4 separate regions of the Homo sapiens genome follow, and regions 1, 2 and 3 are each linked to region 4. The links are contacts of gene promoters, found by promoter capture Hi-C in blood cells and fetal thymus (Javierre and others, 2016). All regions are on one chromosome and are shown on one strand. Each heading gives the region's core, a stretch centred on a gene start or on the middle of the fragment in contact. The rest is flanking DNA. Distances are from core to core; before and after follow the strand shown. Region 1 overlaps UBE3D (ubiquitin protein ligase E3D). Region 2 overlaps UBE3D (ubiquitin protein ligase E3D). Region 3 overlaps UBE3D (ubiquitin protein ligase E3D). Region 4 holds the start of IBTK (inhibitor of Bruton tyrosine kinase).

Region 1 (6,660 bases), core at 2,602-5,101, 720 kb before region 4:
TAGGGTTCAGGCTCTTATGAGAATCTAATGCTGCTGCTTATCTCACAGGAGGCAGAGCTTGGGCAGTAATGTAAGTGATGGGGAGTGGCTGTAAATTCAGATGAAACTTCGCCTGCTTGGCTCACAGGCCAGTATTGGTCTGTGGTCCAGGGGTTGGGGACCTCTGCTGTACAGGGATGATTACTCACATTTTAAGTGTCTTTTTTATACCTTGGAACCAAATACTGAGGCTAGCCTCTTCAAAATGAACAGAATGTGGATTAATGAAATCCAGCTATCAGAGATAGCTCATTTTAAGGGTGTGGTGACAAGGAAAGAAGCTAAGAATTCTATCATTTTTAATAAAAAATAGTGGCCTTCGGAAGTTTCAATGAAATTCTTCTTAGGTTTTAAAGCTGCCATTTAAAAATATTTTGTTCTACCTCGGAAAAATTTAGCAAACATTTTTCTCTTCAACTCAAGGTGCTCTTCGGGGAGGAGATGCCTTTTAGTGCATAAAGTCTGTGAATAAAACTGGAGTATATTTTCCAGTTTCAATAATCAGACCTCTCTGCAAGTCAGTTAATGAGTTAATAGCAGATATAAAATTTAGGAGATTGTCAGGACTGACCTGATAGATTTTGTTGGTTATATTTATTTTATCTAGGTGCATACAAATCAAATTCTTATAGGAGAATCAAATCCAAGTTGCTAGAAATGAATTTTTCTCTATGCCAAATAACTTGGGAAATTGATTCTCCTACTTTGCATAAAATGGGTGTGGCCAGTTTTGTCTTGTTTTTTTGTCTTTTGTACTATAATGTGGTGTTGTCTTTTATTCAGTCGTACAACTTTGGGGATTCCTGAATAAGCTTTTACCTGTGGTAGAAACAACAGATTTCAGAACATTAGTAGCTTCTCATTTATATAGCTTTTTAAAATAATTTTATAGCATATTCTTTAAAACAATACTGTTAAACATATGTGTTTTCAAAGTTAACTGGTAATGATTTTATTTCTATCATAGCTCATTTAAGAGAACAGTTACTTTAGAAGGATAGACTAGACATGTATTTCTTTTTAAAAATATAATTTTTGGTTATGTGAATGATTCATGTTCAGATTTCAAAAATAGAAAATGTCCTAAAGTGCATCATTTTATTTATATAACTTCTTGAAATTATAGCAGTCTGCAACATAAATGGTACAACAAAGAACACCAAGCTATATTTTTATGTACATTTAAATTTGTAGAATTATGTACCATTTTTAAGTATCTGAACTAAAACCAGGGTATTTCCAACATATAGCTTATATTTTTATATGATTATTTTTAAGAGCAGACTTAAAATCAACTCTACTAGAGTTACATTGACATGTGACTTCACAAAAGGTCTAAAGGCTTAAACTTGAGGGCTTTTTCCAAAATCAAGGGCTCTTGCACAGGTAGCATGAGATCTTGGTATTTGGATTCTCATCTCTTCCCATGGAGGGAGGGACAGAATTCTTAGTCATTAGGATTTGTCTTCTAATGGGTCAGAGAAATCCACTTATGACTTAGGGTTATGAAATTCAGTCACTAGTAGCTAAGATACCAAGATTGGTCAGGCCTTATTCATGTGAATTGAGTTATACCATTGCCAAGTGCCCTCTTGTGAAAGAACGGTATCTGGGTTTCCAAAGGAAGGGCATCTGAGGATAGACTTGGGAAGAGGTATAAAGGGAAGCCAAGGATACTGAAGATGATGGTACTCTGTGAGGGTAGGAATGGAACTCTGTGGTTGCATATGATGCAAACAACCAGAACCCACCCCGTTCTGAAGGCATGGGCTGAGAGAGCTCTGCTAGATCATCTCTCTCTTTTCTGCTGAAACCAGATGTGGTTTCACCATCTATCTCTGGTCTCACCATCTATTTCAACACAATCACTGCCAACCAATTTGAAGTGAAAAATGAAGAGAACCTATTTGTTATACCAGGTCTAGGACATCATCAAAGAAGAAAGCGTCAAACATTTTGAATACCTCTAATGCAACTCCAAATAAAGCTTCTATAAATAATGCCATTTTATCAATACCAGTAATATCAATATTAATAAATTAAATATATTTCCTGACATGTTTTTTAAAAATTCTTTCTGGCAAAAATAAACTTAAAAAAGACATCAAGAGCTATTTAAAAAAAATAGAGGCCAGGTGTGGTAGCTCATGCCTGTAATCCCAGCACTTTGGGAGGCCAAGACAGGAGGATCACTTGAGGCTAGGAATTCCAGATCAGCCTGGGCAACATAGCAACACCCTGTCTCAATATTTTAAAAAAAAGAAAACATCTTTAATCCTTGCTTTGTACCTTATGCATCCTAAACACTTTGCATTCACACTGGCAAAGGACTTCCACTTTGGGACAGAGTGGGTAATGCTGATTAATGAAAGTGTCAGCTGAGTTTGGCCCCTATGGGACAGGGAATCTAGTAATGCCAAGTGTCAGATTTATTTATGAGAATGTTATTAGAGTGGACCTAATTTATTATGTCTCAACCCACATACTTTGACTGCCACTTACTTAGGAGGGTGATTAGAGGATTAGAAATGCGTTTCTCAGCCTCCTAAGTTTTTAACTGATTTCCTCTGGTAATGTAATAGAACATAGTAAAAATGTGAGCCAAAAGACCTTATTTCTGAAAACTTTTCCTAAATGGTTATATTTATTAATGTGCTAACAAATATTATGATATATAATTAGAAGTTAGTTCAAAATGGAACTGTTTTAATTATTTTGTCAGAAAATAGTAAATTAGAAAAAGAGAATTTTGACTGAAAAGCAGCGATCCTTACTCAGGGGTCCATAAATCTTGAAAACATTATGCTAAGTGAAAGAAGCCAGACCAAAAAGGCCACATGTTGTATGATTCTATTTATATAAAAGATGGTAATGAATGGACTTGGAGAGGAGGGTGATCTGAGAAACACCCAAAATTATATGCAAAATCCTCTTTGTAAAATGAATGTTGTTGAGGAGAGAGAGTCCCTAGTTTTTGTTTTTTGTTTTTTGTTTTTGTTTTTGTTTTTTGTTTTGAGACAGAGTCTTGCTCTGTCACCCAGGCTGGAGTGCAGTGGCGTGACCTTGACTCACTGCAATCTCTGCCTCCCGGGTTCAAGCGATTCTCCTGCCTCAGCCTCCCGAGTAGCTGGGACTACAGATGCCTGCCACCACGCCCGGCTAATTTTTTGTATTTTTAGTAGAGATGGGGTTTCACTGTGTTAGCCAGGATGGTCTCGATCTCCTGACCTCGTGATCTGCCCGCCTCGACCTCCCAAAGTGCTGGGATTACAGGCGTGAGCCACAGCGCCCGGCCCAGAGTCCCTAGTTTTAACTATATTGTCATTGAGGCCTATGACCTTCAAAATGGTTTAAAAATCACTACTTAAAAACCTTTTTAAAAATGAATTTCTGTCCTTTGTCCTCTTTTTGTAAATTCATAGAGGTTCTTTCTGTCAATAAGGTTTTCTGCCCTCTGCCTGTGATTTAAAATTTTTTTTATTAGCAATACAATTTTTTAAAATTATAAAACCCTTATAGATTTGTGTTTGTGGTAGTTTTTTAGAGTTTTTGGCAAGATTTATTTTATTTTTACATATATGCCTGTGATACATCTTGAATTTATTTTTGAAAATGATATGATAGGTTTTTAAATTTATTTTCTTCCAGATGAGTGGTTTTTTGAACTATCACCCTTAATAAATAATCAATTTTTCTGTCCTTAAATTGTAATAGTATATCATTTCTAGTATATTATATCATGTTCTATTATATATAATTATATATAATTATATATATAATAGTATATCATGTTCTATTATATGACTATGAGTAAACACCATAGAAATACGTTACATTTCATTAGGGTCTATTTTTGTATTTTGTGTTTTGTTCCATGGATCTATTTGTCTACTTCTATATTAACACCATTTTGACTTGATTACATTAGTTTTATTATATGTTTTGGTATCTGGAAAGCAAATATGCCTACTGAATTCTTTTTAACATGGTCATTTTCAAACATTTATTCTTGCAAGTAATATTATTTTATCCAGTTCTGATGAAAACCAACCCTTTTGGGATTCTAACTGAAATTACATTAAATTAAAATATAAATTTTGGGACCATTGACACTTTTATGATATTAAGTATATCTTTCCATTTTTTCATGTCTTGTTTTATGTTCTTGAGTAAGGTTATGTAGTCTAATTTCTGTAGCTCTTTGTCTTTTTTGTTAAATTTTCTAAGTTTGTTTTGTTTTGTTTTTAGAGAGGGTCTCACTCTGTCACTCGGTCTGGAGTGCAGTGGGATGATCTTGACTCACTGCAACCTCCACCACCTGGGTTCAAGGGATCCTCCTACCTCAGCCTCCCAAGTAGCTGAGCCCACAGGCATGTGCCACCATGCCAGGCTACTTTTTTGTATTTTTAGTAAAGACGGGATTTCACTATGTTGCCCAGGTTGGTTTCAAACTCCTGAGCTGAAGCAATCCACCCACCTCGGCCTCTCAAAGTGGGATTAGAGTCGTGAGCCACTGCACCTGGCCTCTTTCTAAGTATTTTTATCGTGATGTTCTTATTGTAAAAGAGGAAGGTTTTTCCTTACTATTTTTAGGCTTCACTTCCACCCCACCCCACCCCCACCCCCACCCCTGCCCTGTGTAATAGAGAGATTCTTGCTTTTTACATAAATATCTTGGGCACATTTTCTTAACTCTTGTTGTTAACACAGTCTCTCAGGCTTTCTAAGTAAAACAGTCATATCACCAGGGGAAAAGGGGATTAATTTTAACATCTCCTTTACAAGAAAGCGTTAATCAATGACAGTGACCACTCCTGTCTACTTCCTGATTTCAATTGCGATAATTGTATGTTTTGCCATTTATAATTTGATTTTGAGTATTGCTTACAAACTGATGAGAAAAGGCCTAATAATTGAGGCTACTGATGGCATTCCTGAAGTTGTGCAATGAAGCACCTCTGCAAATGACTCAACAAAATTTGAAAATAAGATAAAATTTTTAAAATGTAATTCACAGAAAGCAAATCCAAACAGCCAACAAATATATGAAAAGAAACTCTAGTTCACTAGAATTAAGCAAATATAAACCAGATATATAGCACAGAATAATTTTACTTCCATCAAACTTTAAAAACCCCAACTGTTAGTTCACTGTTGGCAGGAGTATGGGGCAAAGAGTACTCTGATGACTGGTTGTGAAAATGTGAATTGGCACAGACTTTCCAGAAATATCTATTAAAATTAAAAAATGCATATACACCTCAATCTGATATTACCACTCTTGAGATTCTATTCCAAACAAATCAAAGTACCAGAATGTAAAGAAATGTAAGCAAGGACATTATTGTAATATTGTTCATAGCAGGAAAAGAAAACTGGGAGAAAAGATAACCAAGGTATAGTATTTTAGACATACACACCTTGATGTGTTATATAGCCATTAAAGAGAGTGAATTATTAGTCCCAGAGCAGTTGATTTGAGGGCAGAGAGTGGTCAGTGGATAGTGAGAGATCAGTGATGGGGTGGGGGGCAGGGGAAATAGGGAGAGGTGAGGGAGGTTAAAAGGGGGAGAATGCAGTACAATATGAGATTTGGCAAAGATTTCTTAAACAGGACACAAAAAGTGGTAAGCTTTAAAAATACAAAAACTTGATTACATTAAAATTAAGAACTTTTTAAGCATGTGCTTATCATATGACCCAGCAATTGCATTTTGGGGCCTTTTATCCTGGAGAAATGAAAACTTAATGTTCACCCTAAAACCTGTACACAGATGTTCATAGCAGCTCGTAGCTATTATTTATAATAGCCCCAAACTGAATCAGCCCAAATGTCCTTCAGTAGATGAATGGATAAACAACTGTGATTATATTCCATGGAAATTTACTCAGTTATAAAAAGGAATGAAAGCTAGGTATGGAGTTGAGTAGCCTGTAATTGCACCTATTCTGGAGACTGAGGTGGGAGGATTGCTTGAGGCCAGGAGTTTGAAACTAGCCTTGATAATATAGTGATCCATCTCTTAAATTTTTTTTTTTTAAACTTAGCCTGGTGTAACAGTGCACACCTCTAGAATCAGCTTCTCAGGAGGTTAAGGTGGGAGGATCACTTGAGCCCAGGAATTCAAAACTGCAGTGAGCTATGATCACGCCACTGCACTCCAGCCTAGGTGACAGAGCAGGACCCCATCTCTTTTTAAAAAAGAAAAAAAATATGAACTGTTGATACAATTACTTGGATGAATCCCGAGGGAATTATGGTGAGTTATAAAAAAAGACTACATATTATATGATTCTACTTATGTAACATTCTTGAAATAACAAAATTATAGAGATGAAGAACAGATTAGTGGTTGCCAGGGGGTAGGGAGTGGAGGCGATGGGGAAGGGAGGTGGTTGTGCCTCTAAAGAGTTATCTTAAGAGATGCTCGTAATGGAACTGTTCTGTATGTTGGCTATTCAGTGTTAATGTGGTCACACGAGTCTGCACATGTGAAATAATTGCCTAGAAGTAAATACACATAGACACACACAAATGAATGCATGTTTAAACATGAGGTTTAAAAAAGGTTGGTGAATTATATCAATGTTGATGTAGTTATCCAGAATGTTACCATTAGG
Region 2 (6,397 bases), core at 337-2,836, 660 kb before region 4:
GTACTTGTGCAGCTATTTCTGTTTTTCACATGAGGAAACTGAGGCTTAGAGAAGCTAAGTCAGAGCCATATTGGCCTCAAACCACAGAGCGAGAATCTAAGCACAGGTTATTTGATTCTAAAGCCTCTTTTTCCCCACTGGATTGCATAGCCACTGGGCTTTCAGTTAATAACTAGTGAAACAGTCCTGTAAAACTGTCCACCTTAGTGAATCTGCCTGCAGGTAGGTTTATTGTTACTGTGGCTCCTCATCTTTTGCAGGTGAATACCATGTATGAGATCATTTTGGAGGAGAGTGGCATGCCTAGAGTAGAGAATAACCACTGACAAGATTCTCAGGATTTAAAAAAAAGGTTGTTTGTTGTTTTATTTTGATTTGCTTTTTATTGCCTGACACATTGGAGGAACCCAATGAATACATCCAGAGGATGACTACGTGGATGTATGAGTGAGTGAAAGGCAGTTTATTCTACAAGGTTTAAATGAACTAATTTTGCAATAGCAAATACAGAAAGCAAAATTTTAGCATTATACCCTGGTATGACTTTATTTCTATATTTCAGGAACAAAACATCATATAACTTTCCACATAACTCTTTGAAGCTCTTGATAGGTCTTTTATATTCCGCTTCCCAAATCCTTCTGTGTAGTTATAAGTCGAAAGTAGAGTATTACACCACTTTCATTGGAAAAAAGACTAATTTTACATTGTAATGATTGTACCTGTTCTGTGACAAAGCCTTGATTAAAAAAAAAAATCCAAAAATTCCAGTTTAATAGCTCAAAGAAAGAAGATTGTCTCTAGGAGAACTAGGACACAGTTTTACAGTTTACTCATTGTAAAATTGGCCTTCAGTGTGCTAAAATGGAAAAAAGGATGAATGCAGAAGAAAAAAAGCATAGAATAACTGACTAAGCTCGAAGGTCATTAATGACACTAAGAGGAGTAAAAATGATAAAGTGAACATAGAAAATCATATTCTGTGAAAAATGAAATAGAATTGCTCTTAGCAAGAAAAAAAAAAGCATGGAAGAAATCTTTTTAGTACATTTGAGGGAAGGGAGGAAGGACTGTGTGCCCAAATGAGTAGCTCTGTTGGAGCCAAAGAATGGGTTCTAATCCTTATCAGAACTTCAGAACAAATTTCTTAAAAATGTAGGTCAATAAGAGCTTATAGTTAGGAGAGAAGCCTGGTTTCCTGCAGACATGTTTTCTGTTCCCCAGGAAGAAAGTCCAGTGTCAGTCAGCCTGTGAATCCAAATGTGTGATTCTAAGGAGGTACAGCATTAATTGGAGCAGCTGCTAGCACAGGAAGAGTGTCCAGCCTTTCTGACCGATGACAGGAGAAAGCTTTAAGCAGGGTAGATAATCAGCTCCTCCCATGACTTCTCCTGAGATTATAAAATTATCAGTGTAAATGTTGTGATCCCCCGTCCTAATCCTGTACATCCCCTTTTTCTACCCCCTCACCTTCATTGGGGAAAACTATTCATTATTTAGAAGGCAGCAGCACTAGTGAAATGCACAAAACTCAGATCATTGTTGAAAGAGCTGATCAATGTGTTTAAATGAAAGTCTCAAAAGAAATAAAATCTGTCTCACATGTGGCCCATGTGCTGAGTTTAAAAGGTTGCTATGGGAAACTTTCAGCTAACCTTTAGCCTCTGTGACTATATATTGCCTAGCTCAGACTTGTGAGAAGTATTCTAATTTATAAGTTTTATTTTCATGTAATTAGAAAAACAACAAAAACCAGTTATTGTCTCAAATGTTTGGGCCCTTGTTATTCCATTTAGAAGCAGTATATTGGTAATGAAGCTTTTTGCTGTGTCCCCAAATACTGCATTTCAAAACTTCAATTCTGGTCCTTTACCATGTAGGAAGATGATTGGAGAGTACACAATGAACTGATGATCAAGTCTTGCATTAAGGTAATAAATGAAAAGACTGTCACAAAATCTATTCATGTCCCCCCTGAGTTTTTTTTTTTTTTTTTTTTTTTTTTTGCCAAAATGTTCTTGCTGTGACCTACTTCTACAGATAAGAAAAATGATTTTTCCATCCTTCTATGACATTATGGCTATAGTGAACTGTTCCCAAGTGTCTTGGTGTAGGTGGCCTTGTGAGGATAAGAATTAATTATTTTTAGACTGCTGATGCATCACCTCTGTGGTGTCTATATTTGTCTTCTAAGAATGCATCATCACTCTCTAATTATAGGTGATCTGGTGGGATTAGATCTTTTGAGTTAAACAGACTAGGATGACACAAAATATGCATGGAAAGTAAACATTTGAAAAATTGGTGAGCCACAGTGATTGTTAAGATCCCAACTATACTGCAGTGTTCAGAATAACACTCAGAACAATCTTCACATTGTCAGTGTCACCACCTGCCTAATTCCTACATTTTAAATCAGTTGCCAATTGAGTTTATTTTTATGTTTTCAACTTGAAAATGTATCACCTAATTCTAATTCTTGGACTCTTGCAATGTTACCCCAACAGCTTTTGTGAAAGAAAGAAAAAAAAATAGGAAATCACCATGGAACCTCTGGAATGCTGCTCTGTGACAGCCGTCTCTGCAGAACCAGGAGAGCAGTGAGGGCTGTGGCACCTTGGTCTCAACTTTGAGGCTTGTGAGGCAGTACAGAGCAGAGCTCTGAGCAAAGTTTTAAAGAGCAGATCATTTTCTGGGCAGGATGTTTTGCCAAGTAATGTGGAAGTAATAGAGTACTGGGGTTGAAAATAACAAATCTCCCAGTCTCTTTTCAGCTCCATCCTATAAAAGGTTATTTTCTCTGATGTTGATGCAGAAAAGTAATAAACCTAGATTCTAGTTATATAATTAATTTGTCCAATCATTCATTCCAGGCAACAAATATTTACTGAAAACCTTCTGTGTACAAGACCTCATAGAGAGATATACAGAGATTTAGATAAGATGTTGTGCTTCCACATGAATGGTCCCTTTGCAGGCAGGAGTGGATACGCAAGGGTTTTATTGGGAAATCTAAAGCACAAAGTGTCGTCAGGAAGAGGCATTTGGTTCCCTACTCAGTGTCTGTGTGTGTGGACTGTGTCACAGGCAAAGTGTGGGAATTTAAAATCACCAGTGCTTTTCCTCTTTTCTTGAATCCCAGTCTAAGAAGTAGCTTTCGGGAATCACAAATTCAAGTGTTTAATCGATGATGAACATAAAGCTGGAGCATTTGAACACGTTGAGGGTAGTGACCAAAGTGCAAGGGTGCCTTTCTAGTCCCCCAAGATCACTTCTAAAACTCAGTGCCATTTTAAACAGTGAAGTTGGGAGGAAGGGGAAGGATCGCATCCAATTTCATTCCCCTACTGTGCAGCAGATGTGCCCACAGGAACAACTGCACAGTGCGATGTTGTCAGGTTTCCAAAAGAATTTAGCTAATGGGCTTCATTGCTCATAGACCTCGAATCCCAGAGAATCAACATGAAGGTGACAGACAAGTACAAAACTTGAAGCTTCTAAGAGTGAGTAAGTGATGAAGTTTTTGTGAGCAGCTTTTCCAACCTAAGAGTTCTAATTTGCCCCACCCAAAATTTGAAGCAGCTACCCTTGCACAAAGGGAAAGAAAGCAGATGTGAATGCTTATGTTAAAAGTCAGCTAATTTAAACCTAAGGAAAAAAATTCTTAGCTGTGGAGAGGGCCAGAATATTGAAGGAGCTCTGCAGCATCTCCTCTGGAGGCATTTCTGAATAATATCTCTTGAATGGCTTAGCTGTACAGGGCTGCCTCCAGGCTTAGCAGAGAATATATTCTGGGTACCATTGTAAGTGTTAGGGAAGGCCTGAAAATCACTGGCAGAAAGGCTAATGTTATACAGTTCAGATTCCCCCAAGGAAGAAAATGTTTATGCAATTCAACTTTGGTAACCTGAGTTGTAAGCTACTTGTTTTCTGCAAACATCAGAGTTAATAGTACCGGTACCCTAAACTACTAGTTCACAGCATATTTTTGGATCCATTTTTCTTTCCACTGAAGAACAACTTTTAACTTGTTATCAGGAATGTTCTCTTAGATTCAGAGAGAACCACAGAAGTCCGTTGCCAGTTTGTTACTGTGACCTGTGGGACAGGGGTAACCCCTTCAGAAGTCCTCACCCACCTGCACACTTGCCACACTCCCTGTGACTACTTCAGACTGCATTAATTGAGCACAGAGCCATGGGGCCAGGAAAAGTGTGGCACTACAGAGAGGGGCAAGTGAAATGCTGAGGCTTCCTGGGAAACCTGGACTGACTCACCTGCAGCCTGAGCCAGGCCCTGCTCCAGTCCCACACTGCTTTATGACCCCAGGACTGTCTCTGTGCCCTGGCTGTATAAATATCTCCCTGAGGCCTTCAGGAAGTTTCGAGTAGCATAGTACGTGAGTAAGTTATGCAGTGGAGGAAGGGAAGAAAGGAAGAGTGTATTTGAAAGGAGAGCTGTTGACAAGAAGTCCTATACCCCATCCATCTTTCTCCTAATATTTTTAATAAACATGTATTAAGCACAGTTTGTATATGTAATGCATTTATTGAACAGTGGAACTCATAGGATTGAAATATGAAATTTTTTCCCCCAATCTTCAACCACATTTTGGAGTTAGGAAAGGTGTTGCTGAGTTTCTTTTTGTTTTATTTCTTATTTTCGTATTTCAGTAGCTCTAGAGGTACAAGTGGTTTTTGGTTACAAGGATGAATTGTATAGTGGTGAAGTCCAGCCATTAGTGTCACCCAAATAGTGTACATTGTACCCAACTATTGACATTTTAAGATGGATTTTTTTTTATTGTAGAGAGCTGTCCTGTTCATCCCGGGCCTCTGCCTACCAGATGCCAGTAGCATTCCCCTAGTTATGACAACCAAAAATGTCTCCACGCATTGCCAAATGTCCCCTGGTTGAGAACCACTAATACACACCCATGTAACCATTATCCTAAAAGAAGATTTAGATCATATCCATTTCCCATAAAGTTCCCTTCAGGTGTCTTGCAGTTAATCGTTCCTCTTTGAAAACCATTGTCTCTATTTTCTATCATCTTAGATTCATTTTGTCTATATTTGCACTTTGTATAAATTGAATCATACTGTATGTACTCTTTTTTGTCTCGACCTCCCACTTTAACATAATGTTTTTGCAATTTATCCCTATTATTGCATTTATCAGTAGTTCATTCTTTTTTGTTGCAGAGAAGTATTTCACTGAATAAATATGCCACAATTTGTTCATCAGTTCTCCTGTTAATGGGCACTTAGGTTGTTTCCTATTGGGGGCTGTTTTGAATAAGGCTGCTGTAAATATTCTGGTAAAATCTTTTTGTGGACCTGTTTTCATCTCTCTCAGGTACATATCTAGGAATGGAATTGCTGGGTTGTAGGATAGATGTATATTTAACTTCTAATAAACTGCTAAACACTTTTGCAAAGTGCATGTGCCATTTTACACTCCCAGCAACCATGTCTGAGAGCTCCGGCTGTTCCGTGTCTTCATCAGTGACATCATTTGGTGATGCCAATCTTTTATTTAACTATTCTGGGTATCTCATTATGATTTTCATTTGCATTTCCCTAACAACCAATGATATGAGCACCTTTTCATGTGCTTTATCTTCTCTTGTGAAGGATCTGTTTTAAGGCTTTTTATCATTGATTGTAGGAGTCCTGTTCCCCTCCTACATCCCCCACCACTACCCGTAATTGGTTTGAGTTTTACAGGAAACTCAGGGACTGAGAAACCTTTGGCCATCTGAATAAATTTGATCTAAATTATAAAAACCACTGTGAAACATGCCTTCTGGATTTTGTTTGTTTGTTTCCATTTCCAAACATCCTGTGAGTTTAGAGAGTATTTTCCTTAGAGGTTAGAAATACTCCTCCTAATTAGCCAGACAGGTATGCAGAACTACTTTAATTTTCTATGGCATAGCCTTCCAGTGCTTACAGCCCCTACACAGCAACAGCCCGACCTCATCCTTCCACAGTTTTGACAAGCAAATTAACAGCAGGAACCTGTCCCCACATAAGGCAGTGAGTCACTTTTATAATTCCATGCCCAAGGGAGTTTTGTGGTGAGCCTTTTTCTGGAAGCAGTTATTTCTCACTCCTCCCTCCATTTTTCTTTTACCCATACAGGAATGTCTTTACCTAGTTTAAAAAGAATTAAGTTCTCTATCTAGAAAGATCCTTTTTTCCATTCCTATTTTCTGATAATAAAGCTTAGCTATTTCCTTTTAATTACAGTGGAAAAGGGAGGGACTCATGAACTTTCTTTTGTTTTAGTTTGTCCGATAAAATGACTCGATTGTTAAGATGGTTTTAAGACAGTATTTTCTAGCCTGTCCTACTTAGCTAACCAGATAGAAAGATTCATCTCTGAGTAGTTT
Region 3 (6,124 bases), core at 941-3,440, 690 kb before region 4:
TCCAGGTTGTAGTGTAGTGGTGTGATCTCAGCTCACTGCAACCTCCACCTTCTGGGCCCAAGCAGTCCTCCCAACTCAGCCTCCCAAGTAGCTGGGACTACGGGTACATGCCACCATGCCCAGCTAATTTTTGTACTTTTAGTGGACACGGGGTTTCACCATGTTGCCCAGCGTGGTCTTGAATTCCTGGGCCCAAGCAATTCTCCCGCATCAGCTTCAAAAGTGCTAGGATTACGGGCATGAGCCACCGTGCCTGGCTGAGTTTCGGTTCTTAAGAAGGTGCTTTTTTGTGTGTAGATAGTTGTCAAATTTGCTTTCCCTGTCAGGGGGACAGTGGATAGGGTATTCTAAAAAAAAGCAAGTCAGTTACTTCCTAGATACAGTGGGGTTACAGGCATTAGGTAAATACACCCATTCCACAGGGGAGAAATTGGCCAAAACAAAGGGGCTACAGGCCCCATGTAAGTCTGAAATCCAATAGGGCAGTCATTAAATCTTAAAGTTCAAAACTGATCTCCTTTGACTCCATGTTTCACATTCAGGTCATGCTGAGGCAAGAGGTGAGCTCCGATGCTTTGGGCAGCTCTGCCCCTGTGGCTTTGCAGGGTACAGCCCCCCTCCTGGCTGCTTTCATGGGCTGGTGTTGAGTGTCTGTGCAGGTGCACAGTGCAAGCTGTCGGTGGAGCTACCATTCTGTGGTCTGGTTGATGGTGGCCCTCTTCTCACAGCTCCACTAGGCAGTGCCCCAGTGGGTACTCTGTGTGGGGGCTCAGACCCCACATTTCTGCTCCTCACTGCCCTAGCAGAGGTTCTCCGTAAGGGCTCTGTGCCTGCGGCAACCTCTGCCTGGACATCCAGGCATTTCCATACATCCTCTGAAATCTAGGTGGAGCTTCCCAAACTTCAATTCTTGACAACTGTGCACTCACAGGGCCAATACCACATGTAAGCCACCAGGGCTTGGGGCTTGCACCCTTTGAAACAATGACCTGAGCTGTACGTTGGCCCCTTTTAGCCATGGCTGGAGCTGAATAGGCAGTGGCTGGGATGCAGGCCTGGGCCTGGCCCACAAAACCATTTTTTCCTCCTAGCACTCTGGGCCTGTGATGGGAGGGGCTGCCCTGAAGGTCTCTGACATGCCCTGGAGACATTTTTCCCATTGTCTTGGTGATTAACATTCTGCTCCTTGTATCTTATGCAAATTTCTGCAGCCAGCTTGCATTTTTTCCCAGAATATGGGTTTTTGTTTTCCATCACATTGTCAGGCTGCAAATTTTCCAATCTTTTATGCTCTGCTTCCCCTTTAAATATAAGTTCCAATTTCAGAACATATCTCTCAAAGTTCCACAGATCTCTAGGACAGGGGCAAAATGCCTCCAGTCTCTTTGCTAAAACATAGCAAGAGTGACCTTTCTATTCCAGTTCCCAACAAGTTTCTTATCTCCATCTGAGACCACCTCAGCCTGGACTTCATTCTTCATATCACTATCAGCATGTTGGTCAAAACCATTCAATAATCTCTAGGAAGTTCCAAACTTTCTCACATCTTCCTGTCTTCCTCTGAGCCCTCCAAACTGTTCCAACCTCTGCCCGTTTCCCAGTTCCAAAGTCACTTCCACGTTTTGGGTATATTTATAGCAGCACCCCACTCTACTGGTACCAGTTTACTATATTAGTCCTTTCTTGCTGCTATAAAGAACTCCCTGAGACTGGGCAGTTTATAAAGAGATTTAATTAACTCACAGTTCTGTATGGCTTGGGATGCCTCAGGAAACTTACAATCATGGCAGAAGGTACCTCTTCACAGGGCAGGAGGAGAGAGAATGAGTGCCAACAGGGGAAATGCCAGATGCTTATAAAACTATCAGATCTCATGAGAACTCACTCACTATCACGAGAGCAGCATGAGGGAAGCTGCCCCCATGATCCGATTACCTCCACCTAGTCCTGCCCCTGATGCATGGGGATTCTGGGGATTACAATTCAAAGGGAGATTTGGGTGGGGACACAGAGCCAAACTGTATTACTGAAGAACTTAAAAAATAATAATATAATAACTTATAGGGGCTCCTAGAAATAGATAGACAGAGGCCTGGGAATTTTACAGGTAAGTAGCAACAATGGGCTATAGACAAGAGAAAGTGAACTTTTTATCTCTGCACTCTTTTTTTTCTATATACTTTCAAACATTGTACTACATAAATGACCTCATCTGTTATATTCCACTTTCATCTCTGGGTGAATTATAGCCATTATTTTTTTTTAAGTCATGTTTTCCCCTAATTATATATATAAAATAAAACCTTTTTTCATAAAAAAAATTGGAAAATTCATAAAAATATAAAGAAAATTAAGATCACTGGGAGTAACCAGTATTGACATTTTAAAGTAATTGTTTTTTATTTTTTTGGAGATAGTCTTGCTCTGTCACCCAGGATAGAGTCCAGTGGCACGATCTCAGCTCATTGCAACCTCCGCCTCTTGGGTTCAAGCAATTCTCCTGCCTCAGCCTCCTAAGTAGCTGAGATTACAGACGCCACACCCGGCTAATTTTTGTGTTTTTAATAGAGATGGGGTTTCACCGTATTGGCCAGGCTCGTCTTGAACTCCTGACCTCAAGTGATCCACCTGCCTCGGCCTCCCAAATTGCTGCGATTACAGGTGTGAAGCACCGTGCACGGCCATTTTAGAGTAATTCTTAGTCCTATTTTTAATATCTGCTTATACACGCACACACAAATATATATATTAATATAAAATTGGGCTCATTGAAGATGCTGGCTGGGGCACAGTACTGACAATACTCTGCTCTTTCCTCTGTTTCATCTCCTGGCATGAAGACATATACTTTTCCCAAGAGACTATCAATGGGCCTTGGGGACATTATATATGAGGGTCTCAGGGTCCTGTTATTAACTGAGAGTGGGTAGGGAAGAAGGGTGTGAGTGATTCCACATGTCAAAGGGCTTCTGCAGATGTAGTCATGAAGCAGACAGACCTGAACCAAGATGGGCAGGCACTCCCTAGAATTTTCACTCAGCACTTGTGGTAATCCACGTGTGCATCCCAGGAAACTGAGATGGGAGTGGTGTTGGCACCTTCGGGTCCCTGGATGTGTCCACTATTTTTCCTTTCCTGCTAATGCCTTTGTCCTCAGTGTGCAAAGATAATCAGGACTTGAGTGCTGGTCATTGTATTTAGGAACTTCGTTCTCAAAGGTAGTGATTACTGTCCTATTTTCCATCTCTCTCCTCAAAACAATTTCTGAGAATTGCCTCAGCAATTTGGATGTGAAAGATGTTGTCATCTTCATTCCTTTTTGCCCTGCAGGGTGTTCTGTGGTCTGGGGAAATAAGCAGGTATTCTTAGTTGAATACAGTTCTCTAATCTGAATTGTCTCATCCTCTGCCTCCTTTCATTTTGGACTCTCCTTTTTGCCATACTCTAGAGAGAATGTGGAGGATGGGGCCAGGCAGACAGCCTGGAGGTTAACCAGAAATTTAGTCAGATCCACGTTGCTGCCACATCACATCTTTCAAAAGGCCGATTCCCTACCCAGATACCTGCCACGTGACCTGCCCCTCAGACATTTCTGTCCCTACCAAGGAGTTGAGGTTGTGGGCAAAGCTGGACAGTTTCTGTGCTTTCTGTAGCACTTCGTAGGGGAGGTCTGATGGGACTTAGGATGCTCTGCCCTTTGCTTTATTGAGAGAAGCAGGGATGATGTATAGCTTACTAAGTCTATAATTATGTTTCTTGTTTTGTTTGGTTGTGTTTAGTAAGTTAATTTTTTCCTGATTCTAAAGGAAATACCGTCATGTATCACTTAATGATAGAGATACATTCTGAGAAACATGTCATGAGGCATCACAGAGAATGTCATAGAGTGCACTTACACAAACCTGGATGGGCTGGGACAGACACAAACCTAGATGGGCTGGGACAGTCTACTACACACCTAGGCTATGTGGTATGGCCCATTGCTCCTAGGCTGCAAGCCTATATGGCACTGTACTGAATACTGTAGGCAATTGTAATACAATGGTAAGTATTTGTGTATCAAAATATATCTAAACATAGAAAAGGTACAGTAAAAATATGGTACAAAAGATAAAAAGTGGTGTACTCATATAGGGCAGCTCCATTATAATCTTATGAGACTACTGTTGTACATGTGGTCCCTTGTTGATCAGACATCATTATGCAGCTCATGACTGTATGTACCCACGATAGACGATGTGGTATGGGTTTTTCATTAGCAAAACAATACATATTTTTACTTTTAGCAAACTAAAAATATAGAATCTTAAAATTGAACCAATGGCTACCTAGCCCAATTCAGTCCATCTGTCCTTCATGGTGGGGAGAGAAGGCCTAGGGGCAAGGCCTGGCAGGCTCTGGGCAGCCTTTGTGATTTGAGAGCACTCACCTTCTCTTACCTCAGTATCTGTAACACAGAAATGGGGATAAGGAGAACTGGAAGACAGATAGGGTTTGTCTAATTCTGTGATGACATTATTATGAATGGTACTCGTTCTTTTTTTTTTTTTTAATAGACAGGGTGTCCAGTCTCACTCGGTCACCTTGGCTGGAGTGTGGAGTGTAGTAGCACGATCGTAGCTCACTGCAGCCTCGAACTGCTGAGTTCAAGCAATCCTCTTGCCTCAGCCTCCCATGTAGCTGGGATTATAGGTGCATGCCACCACACCAGACTATGGTGCTAGTTCTTAAATGTCAGTATACATGGGAAGCTTGTTTAAAATTTAGATTTCTTAGTGATCTAAGAAATCGGAGTCCTAGCCAGAGAGATTCCGATTCAATAGCCCTGAAGTAGAGCCCAAAAATCTGCATTAACAAGCATCCAAAAGTGTGTATGATAGGGAATTTCAAGAACGAAAACTGTAAGAAACACGTGATAAGAGAATATACACCAACTAAAGTGAGAAATGAAAGAATTTTAATTATAACAACATCTAGTCACAGGTCCAAATAGCTTAATTATTTTCCTCTTTTCTTCACTGCTCCTTATTAACCTGCACTTAACACAGTCTGTATTGCACTAAACTGAATAGTTGTCATCAAGTTTGTGTTTTTTTATTTTCCTTCTCTCTTTACCCTCAGATGTCTTGTAGAATCCTGGTGTTACCTCTGTCACTCCTCTTTCTGCCATTGGTGTGAACACCCGGCATCCCCACATCTCCTGATATCCGGGCTTCTTGCTTTTCTCAGGGATGTGCAGCCTCTGTAGTCCTCTCTCTCACGGCACGTCTGATGTGGTAGGACAGTCGCTCACGCTGATGTCAGACACTCAAGATCTAGTCTGGACTGCTGACCCTCTTCTAGGCAGATAACCCTCTATGGATCCCAGTTTCGTTATCTATGGGATGAAGGGTTGGGTTAAATTACATATGTAAGTGTTTTTAAAGTTCGTTTAAAGTAGAGGCACAGAGTCATTTTTGTCTGTTCCCAGCTGTTCCTGATTTATTCACCCAGTCTGCATAATATAACTGTATTCCTTAAATGTTATAGAACCTTATTTCTTGTGAACATCCTAGAAGTGTTTAACTGAGGAAAAATATAGATAAAGTCAGATTACATAGGGTTGTTGTGTGTGTGTGTGCGCGCGCACACGCCCGTGTGCTCTCCAAGAGGATGGAGTTGATGCCGTAAGACCTCCCTAACAGCTGCCAGGAAGGGACAGGAATGATGGGGTTAGGGTGCCATCTGGCCCTTGGCTCTTCCTGCCTCTGAGACATAGGTAACTCTTTCATGTGGAGGCTAGTAAAGGAAGAACCCTGTCCGAAGGGCTGTTTGTCACAGAAACTTGAAATGTTCTCTGACAGCCCGTAATTTCCCCCCTTTCGTCTTCCTTCTCTACCCTCCCTTAGACTTTTTGCACTTTCGGCTTCCCCTTTTATTTTTCACTCTGGTTCTTGGTGCACATTGAAACATTTATGGCTTAGGAATTTTTCAGTGATTTTGTCTTTGTATTTTACTTATAAGTATAGTTACTCCAAGAAAGATTTCTAAAATGTGAGCCTCTTCTGTTGCCTGGAGCTGCTACTGAGAGGACTTCGTTCTTTCCCACACACTGAGCATGGCTGTGTTCAGTCAAGTGGTGGGT
Region 4 (6,399 bases), core at 1-2,500:
GTCTCGATCTCCTGACCTCGTGATCCGCCCGCCTCGGCCTCCCACATTGCTGGGATTACAGGCGTGAGCCACCGCGCCCGGCCAACTTAAGCTTATTTTCAAAACCACTCAATTTTGACATTACAAACTGGTTTTTGTTTTGTAGAAGGACATTAAGAATAAAGAGCAAAGAAACAATTATGTGCTGGGAAGGGCAGTAGGAGGGCTGGGTCCTAGTCTCCCTTTCTCTTTCGCTAAGCAGCTGTGTGGCTTTGGGCTAGTAACCTACCCTCCCACAAAAAAGGCTTCAAAAGAGAGCAAGCAGAGCTCAGTGGGCATTAAGACATGCGCAACTCCTTTCTTTTAGAGATTAGATGAGGTCGACTCAGTGGCTTGTAAAACTCAACGTGGCAGAGCTGTACAGCCAACTCATGATTCTTAGTGTCGTTTGTTTTGAGTCACACTACACCTCCTTGAACAATCATTTACTGAGTGCTTACCGTATTAGGCATTCAGCAGCAGTGTGTTTCCCATTCAGTAACCTAGTATTGATTATTGGCTACTGTCCCTCCTAGCATTTTTCACTTGACCACTTTCTAAATGGCCTTTAGATTCAGAGTTCAAGTGGAAAAAGCCTAGTGTAAGCCTGGTGTCAGGCAGTGAGTGGCGTGACCCGGGTCGGCAGCTAGTCCTACGGTGGTGATCTAAGAGGGCAGTGACGCCTTCTGACCAAGGGAGTGACTGCCAGATAATCCGGGTGTATGGAGATCCAGAGAGGGGTGAGGCTGGGTTTACGGAGACTACACCTTTGGCTTTGCAGTAACCCCACTGCTAAGGCCATGGGAGGAAACTCTTCTGTGCAGGACGCCTATGCACTTGGCTTCTGCTGCGTAGCGACCGGGTGTCCAAGGCATCCTGCCAGGTCTCCTTCTCCACTCGGGTTTAGCCTCCCCCGCGAGTCTCCAGCTACCTAGAGAGACGTTTCTAACTACGAGATGGCTGGCCTGAAAGGGACACTCCCATCACCGTTGTTGGCCTAGAGTTCCCCGCTGCGGCCTTTTTCTTTTCCCCGCCCCTGGCCTGAGTCAGCGGCCCCAAGGCCGGCGAGGTCAAGTTCCTTTGGGGCGCCAGGGAAAAGGCCATGGCAGAGGTGCTGCCACGCGAAACCTTCTGGGCAGGCACCAGCCAATCATCAAGAGACATACAGGAGCCCCAGCCAACCAGCGCCCGCCTTATTACTGGGAACCGCCCGCTCGGGCCCTTCCTCTACATCCCCGTTCCCGATTCCTGTAGTAGCGGCTGTATTGCAGCCGCCTGCCGAACTGACCCGGGTCTGGGGACTGGCCCCTCTGGCGCCGTTCGGTTTCTCTTATTGCCTTCACTGAGGATGAGTCCCTTTGTGGCTCTATGTGGACCCTGCGGAATCCACCGGCGCAGTTTCATCTAGCGACTGGTGAGGGAGGGCTTGGCGCTGCCCGACCGTGCGGTGCGGCTTCCCTTCAGCCCGGGGGCAGGGGGAGAGTATTCGCCTTCTGGAGGGTGCGGGTGGCTGCGGACGGCGGCGCGGGGGGACCGTGGGGAGGGGACTCTGTGGCCCCGAGGCTGCCGGGCTTCGCGCGAGGCGGCGCGGAGAGGGCCGAGTGGCCAGGGTCCCTACCGCCCCCCTCAGCTAATGAATGGCCTGTCCCGGCGATGCGCTACGCTCCCGTCCTGCTGGACACGCCCTCCAGCGACATTGCATTCCTAGTTGTGATAGTTATGTAGTGTCACTTTCCTTCGAGTCTTGGATTTGAAGCCATTCCTGTGGGCGCTCATGTTCCTTATCCCCTTCCTGGAGTCACAAGTTTGAGTCCACCCTGGGGATACTGACTCTGGGGAAGCAGGTCGTGAAATCTGATAAGTGGACATTGATTGCTATGTAAAAAGGAACTGATTCTTTTTGGAGGGTGGAGGGTTGAGAGAGACAGAGAAGACAGGCCCTTTGTTTTTGTAACAGGCAGAGCTGTCTGGCTCAAAGAGTTTTAGTTCAGCTGCGAATTAGGTAACATAGGCCGTCCTTGACTCCTGTTTTCCAACGTAGTTCATAAAACTTGACTGTGTTAGCCAGAGATTCATGTAGCACCTTTTAACTTATGCCTCGAAGTAGGCCATTTGAAATTTATCAGAAATACTGAAAGGATATGACTTTTATGAGTAGTAGTGTTTCAGTGCCCATAAAGTGGTGTAAATTCACAGGCTTGCCAGCCCCCTCTTGATCATTTCTCTTTTTGTATTTTGAATTCCTTAACTTTTATTTGTTTTAGAAATTGAGGCAAGGTAGATGAGGACAAAACTGGTTTCTAAAAATAATTACATTTGCAAATATTTGCAGAAGCTTTAGTCAAACCAGAGTTTACTTCAAGAAATTTTTTAGGCCGGGCGCGGTGGCTCACGCCTGTAATCCCAGCTACTGGGGAGGCTGAGAATTGCTTGAACCCGGGAGGTGGAGGTTGCAGTGAGCCGAGATCGCGCCGCTGCACTCCATCCTGGGCGACTGAGTGTGGCACCATCTCAAAAAAAAAAAAAAAAAAAAAGATGCCTGTAATCCCAGCAGTCTGGGAGGCCAAGGTGGGCGGATCACTTGAGGTCAGGAGTTCGAGGCCAACTTGGTGAAACCCCGTCTCTACCAAAAATACAAAAAAATCAGCCAGGCATGGTGATGTGTGCCTGTAATCCCAGCTACTCGGGAGGCTGAGGCAGAATCGCTTGAGTCTCCAGCTGCCCTACCAAACTGCTTTTGAATTCAATTATTTTGAATTGAATTCCATGGTACTTTTTTCTACTACACTATACTACTTGCATTGAAATTTTTCTAACTGCCTTTTGGGAGAGCAGTTTGGTAGCATAGAATAGGTGGGATCAAGAGCACTTTTCTGTCGGTATTATTTTAGGTAGGCTTTTTAAACTTTCACATGAATCTCCTCATCAGAAAATGAAAGTGATCATATTTACAGGGGCAATAATAAGGATTATATTTATGTAGAGCACTGTGTATAATGTATAAAACAAAATTTCACCTATAATTTTTGTGTGTTTTTTCCGTTGTTTAATTTTGTTTTGCTTTACTCACTTCCAAAGTATTGACCCCTTACTCTTCTTTCTAGTTTCCCTATCTGTTCTCCAAGCCAGAAACCTGGGAATTACCACCACATCTTGTCAATTCAAGATCCTAAGTATGTCTTTGGATTGCCTGCCCTTTTTTTTTTAAATCTCTAAGAAAAGGCACATAAGGCTGTTCAAAATCCTGTCTATCCTTGTGTGTATGTTAGGCCTCACTTCTTTCTGTCTTCTGAATTATTTAGAAATTTTGGAATGGACCAAGATGATTCTAGTTCTTTTATATTTACTATCCCTTCTGCTTCAAATGTGCTCTCACCCAGAATTTATCAGGCCAACACATATGGTACTCTTTTTTTTTTTAGAAGGAGTCTCGCTCAGTCGCTCAGGCTGGAGTGCAGTTGCATGATCTTGGCTCTCTGCAGCCTTGACTGACCAGTTTTAAGTGATCCTCCCACCTCAGCCTCCAGAGTAGTTGGGACTACAGGGATGTGCCACTACGCCTAATTTTTGTATTTTTTTTTGTAGCGATGGCTTTCACCATGTTGCCCAGGCTGATTTCAAAGTCCTGGGCTCAAGTGATTTGCCTGCCTCAGCCTAACAAAGTGTTGGGACTACAGGCATGAGCCACTGTGCCTGGCCAGTACTCATCTTTTAAGTCTTAGTTTATACATAGTTTATCTCCTGTAGAAAGTCTTACCTGGACCCCTCTTCTGCACTCCCCGTTCCTATGTGTCACTTGTTTTATCTTGACCATAGGTTTATAATTATGATATGTTTTAGTTACTTGCCTAAATAAAATTACTCTCTTCTACCAAACTGTGACCCTTTGATAATAGGAACTGTGTAATAGATCATAAGTTTTGTTCAGTTAGTACATATGTTAAACTAGCTATGCATCCACCTGAGTATTATCCATGAACCTGTATTTTATTTTATCTAAAATATTTAGGTCCTAATTATTTTTGTATTCCCAATGCCTTGTGACCTACTATGGATGCGCTGAAGAAGACAGTGTAACGTAGCAGAAATAGCACGGACCTCATCATTAAACAGATCTGTATTTGAAGTCTGACTCCCTCTTTTCTTGGTGGTATGATTTAGGTGGTTTACTTGACTGGTCTGATGTAAAGCATTCCGTATGTATTAGGTCTTTAAATGCTTATTTCCTTTGCTTTCTTCCCCTTCTTTAAGCAGTTTTTGAATGCATAGATAAGAAGTACAATAGGCATTGGAAATATGGGCCTGGAGTTTAGGGCAAATATGTGAGCAAGAGACAGATTTGGGGATTTATAATCATGTGTACGGTAGAGTTAAAAGCATGAAAAGGATTGAAACTATCAGGAACAATATGAAGTAGAGGACTGAGGATTATTTCAGAGAAGCCCAGTTTGAAGGACAGGGGAAGCGATAATGCCCTAGGAAGAAGTGGTTAAGAGAGAGAGCCCATGCTTAAATGTTTCTGCGACTTCCTGCCCTTCCTGGATCTCTTTTAGACTCCTTAAGGGAATGAGGTTTTAAAGACATAAAAGCAGGGAAGGCAAGTAAGAATTGAAAATATCTAAAAGTGTTTGGTAATTTGGAAGTCATTAGTAACTTTAGCAATAATGATTTCTTTGGAGAAGTGGTAACAAGTGATAATGAAGCTCAAACATGAATTTTGGAGTTAAAATGTATTACCTTTTTATGACTGAAGAAACAATAGTAATGAAAACTATTATTTGTCGAATGCATATTTAGTGCCAGGTACCATGTTAGGTAGTTTCATTTATCATTATAGTAACCATGTGAAGTCCATGGATTGTTTCTATTTTCAGATGAAGAAACGACTTGGAGAGATTATGTCATTTTTTAGTTATATAACTGATAACAGCTGACATTGCTATATTTGAATCTATGTATGTAAAACTCTAAGAAATCCTAGCTCTTAATCGCTTCCATGTTTATGTTCATAGTATTCTGTAGGTGCCGCTTTCTCTATATGATAGTATGGAATGACTTTTTAACATTCTTTTTTCCCCCCTTTAAATGTTTACATTATATATACTAATGAATTAGGGAATTCTTTTCTGTTGTATCTTAATTCTTTAATGTAAGGTTTGAGTGATTCACCAGTAAGTAGTTCCTTCCAGGTATTATGCATACAATGAAAATACAAACATGGTGGGATTTTAGAGCTTTAAAAGAATGAAATTAACTGGATGAACTATTTTGCCACATACAATAAATAGTCCCTACTTATCCAAGGACACATTCTAAAACCCCCAGTGGATGCCTGAAACTGCAGAGAGTACTGAACCCTATATATGCTATGTTTTTACAATTTGCTAACCAAGAGGGCTACTCAGTGACTATCGAGTTGGTAGCATGTACAGTATGGCAATGCTGGACAAATGTATGATTCATGTCTCAGGTGAGGTGGAGTGGTTTGGAGTGGGACACTATGAGATTTCATCATACTGCTCAGAATAGTATGCAATTTAAAACATAAATTGTTTATTTCCAAAATTTTCATTTAATATTTTTGGACTATGGTTGATTGTGGGTAATAGAAACCATAGAAAGCAAATGGATAATGGGGAACTACTGTGTCATGCTTTCCATTTTTAACCTTTTAAAGTACTTGACGATTGGTACCTTTTTTTCTCTTTGCTACCAAACACTTTTTTTTTTTTTTTTTGAGACAGAGTCTCTCTGTCGCCCAGGCTGGAGTGCAGTGGCACGATCTCGGCTCACTGCAAGCTCCGCCTCCCAGGTTCACGCCATTCTCCTGCCTCAGCCTCCCAAGTAGCTGGGACTACAGGCGCCCGCCACCACACCCGGCTAATTTTTTGTATTTTTAGTAGAGACGAGGTTTCACCGTGTTAGCCAGGATGGTCTTGATCTCCTGACCTCGTGATTCGCCTGCCTTGGCCTCCCAAAGTGCTGGGTTTACAGGCATGAGCCACCGTGCCCGTCTTTTGTTTTGTTTTGTTTTGTTTTTGAGACAGAGTCTTGCTTTGTCACCAGACTGGAGTGCGGTGGCGGGATCTCGGCTCACTGCAGCCTCCACCTCCTGGGTTCAAGCATTTCTCCTGCCTCAGCCTCCCAAGTAGCTGGGATTACAGGAGTGTGGCCAGCTAATTTTTGTATTTTTAGTAGAGATGGGGTTTCACCATCTTGGCCAGGATTGTCTTGATCTTTTGACCTCATGGTCCGCCCACCCCGGCCTCCCAAAGTGCTGGGATTACAGACGTGAGCCACCGTGCTCGGCCCCCAAACACATTTTTATTTGTTTTATCTTGTTCTTTTTGTTGCTGTTGTTCAAATCAGTGTTTTAAGGGG

The links. The method cuts DNA at HindIII sites, captures the fragments that hold promoters and counts their contacts. A CHiCAGO score of 5 or more calls a contact.
Region 1: a fragment that was not itself captured here is called in contact with the fragment with the promoter of IBTK in region 4 in 2 of 17 cell types (total CD8 T cells and activated CD4 T cells); the score reaches 5.4 in total CD8 T cells.
Region 2: a contact is called between a fragment that was not itself captured here and the fragment with the promoter of IBTK in region 4, in 2 of 17 cell types (erythroblasts and endothelial precursors). The highest score is 5.2, in erythroblasts.
Region 3: a fragment that was not itself captured here is called in contact with the fragment with the promoter of IBTK in region 4 in 1 of 17 cell types (non-activated CD4 T cells); the score reaches 5.1 in non-activated CD4 T cells.

What each region holds. Positions count from the first base shown.
Region 1 is chr6:82,967,232-82,973,891 of GRCh38, reverse strand. The region is part of intron 8 of UBE3D (ubiquitin protein ligase E3D); the gene reads left to right. Among named protein-coding and RNA genes, the nearest start is that of UBE3D, 95 kb to the left of the region's middle. The HindIII fragment of the contact is 3,645 bases long and covers 2,029-5,673 here.
Region 2 is chr6:82,906,806-82,913,202 of GRCh38, reverse strand. All of the region lies in intron 9 of UBE3D (ubiquitin protein ligase E3D), which reads left to right. Among named protein-coding and RNA genes, the nearest start is that of UBE3D, 160 kb to the left of the region's middle. RefSeq lists a silencer at 2,086-2,286. The HindIII fragment of the contact is 468 bases long and covers 1,353-1,820 here.
Region 3 is chr6:82,937,490-82,943,613 of GRCh38, reverse strand. All of the region lies in intron 9 of UBE3D (ubiquitin protein ligase E3D), which reads left to right. Among named protein-coding and RNA genes, the nearest start is that of UBE3D, 130 kb to the left of the region's middle. The HindIII fragment of the contact is 5,127 bases long and covers 1-4,753 here.
Region 4 is chr6:82,242,595-82,248,993 of GRCh38, reverse strand. IBTK (inhibitor of Bruton tyrosine kinase) reads left to right here and starts at 1,250. Exons shown (of 29, transcript NM_015525.4): 1 at 1,250-1,432. RefSeq lists a silencer at 1,448-1,617. The HindIII fragment of the contact is 2,262 bases long and covers 94-2,355 here.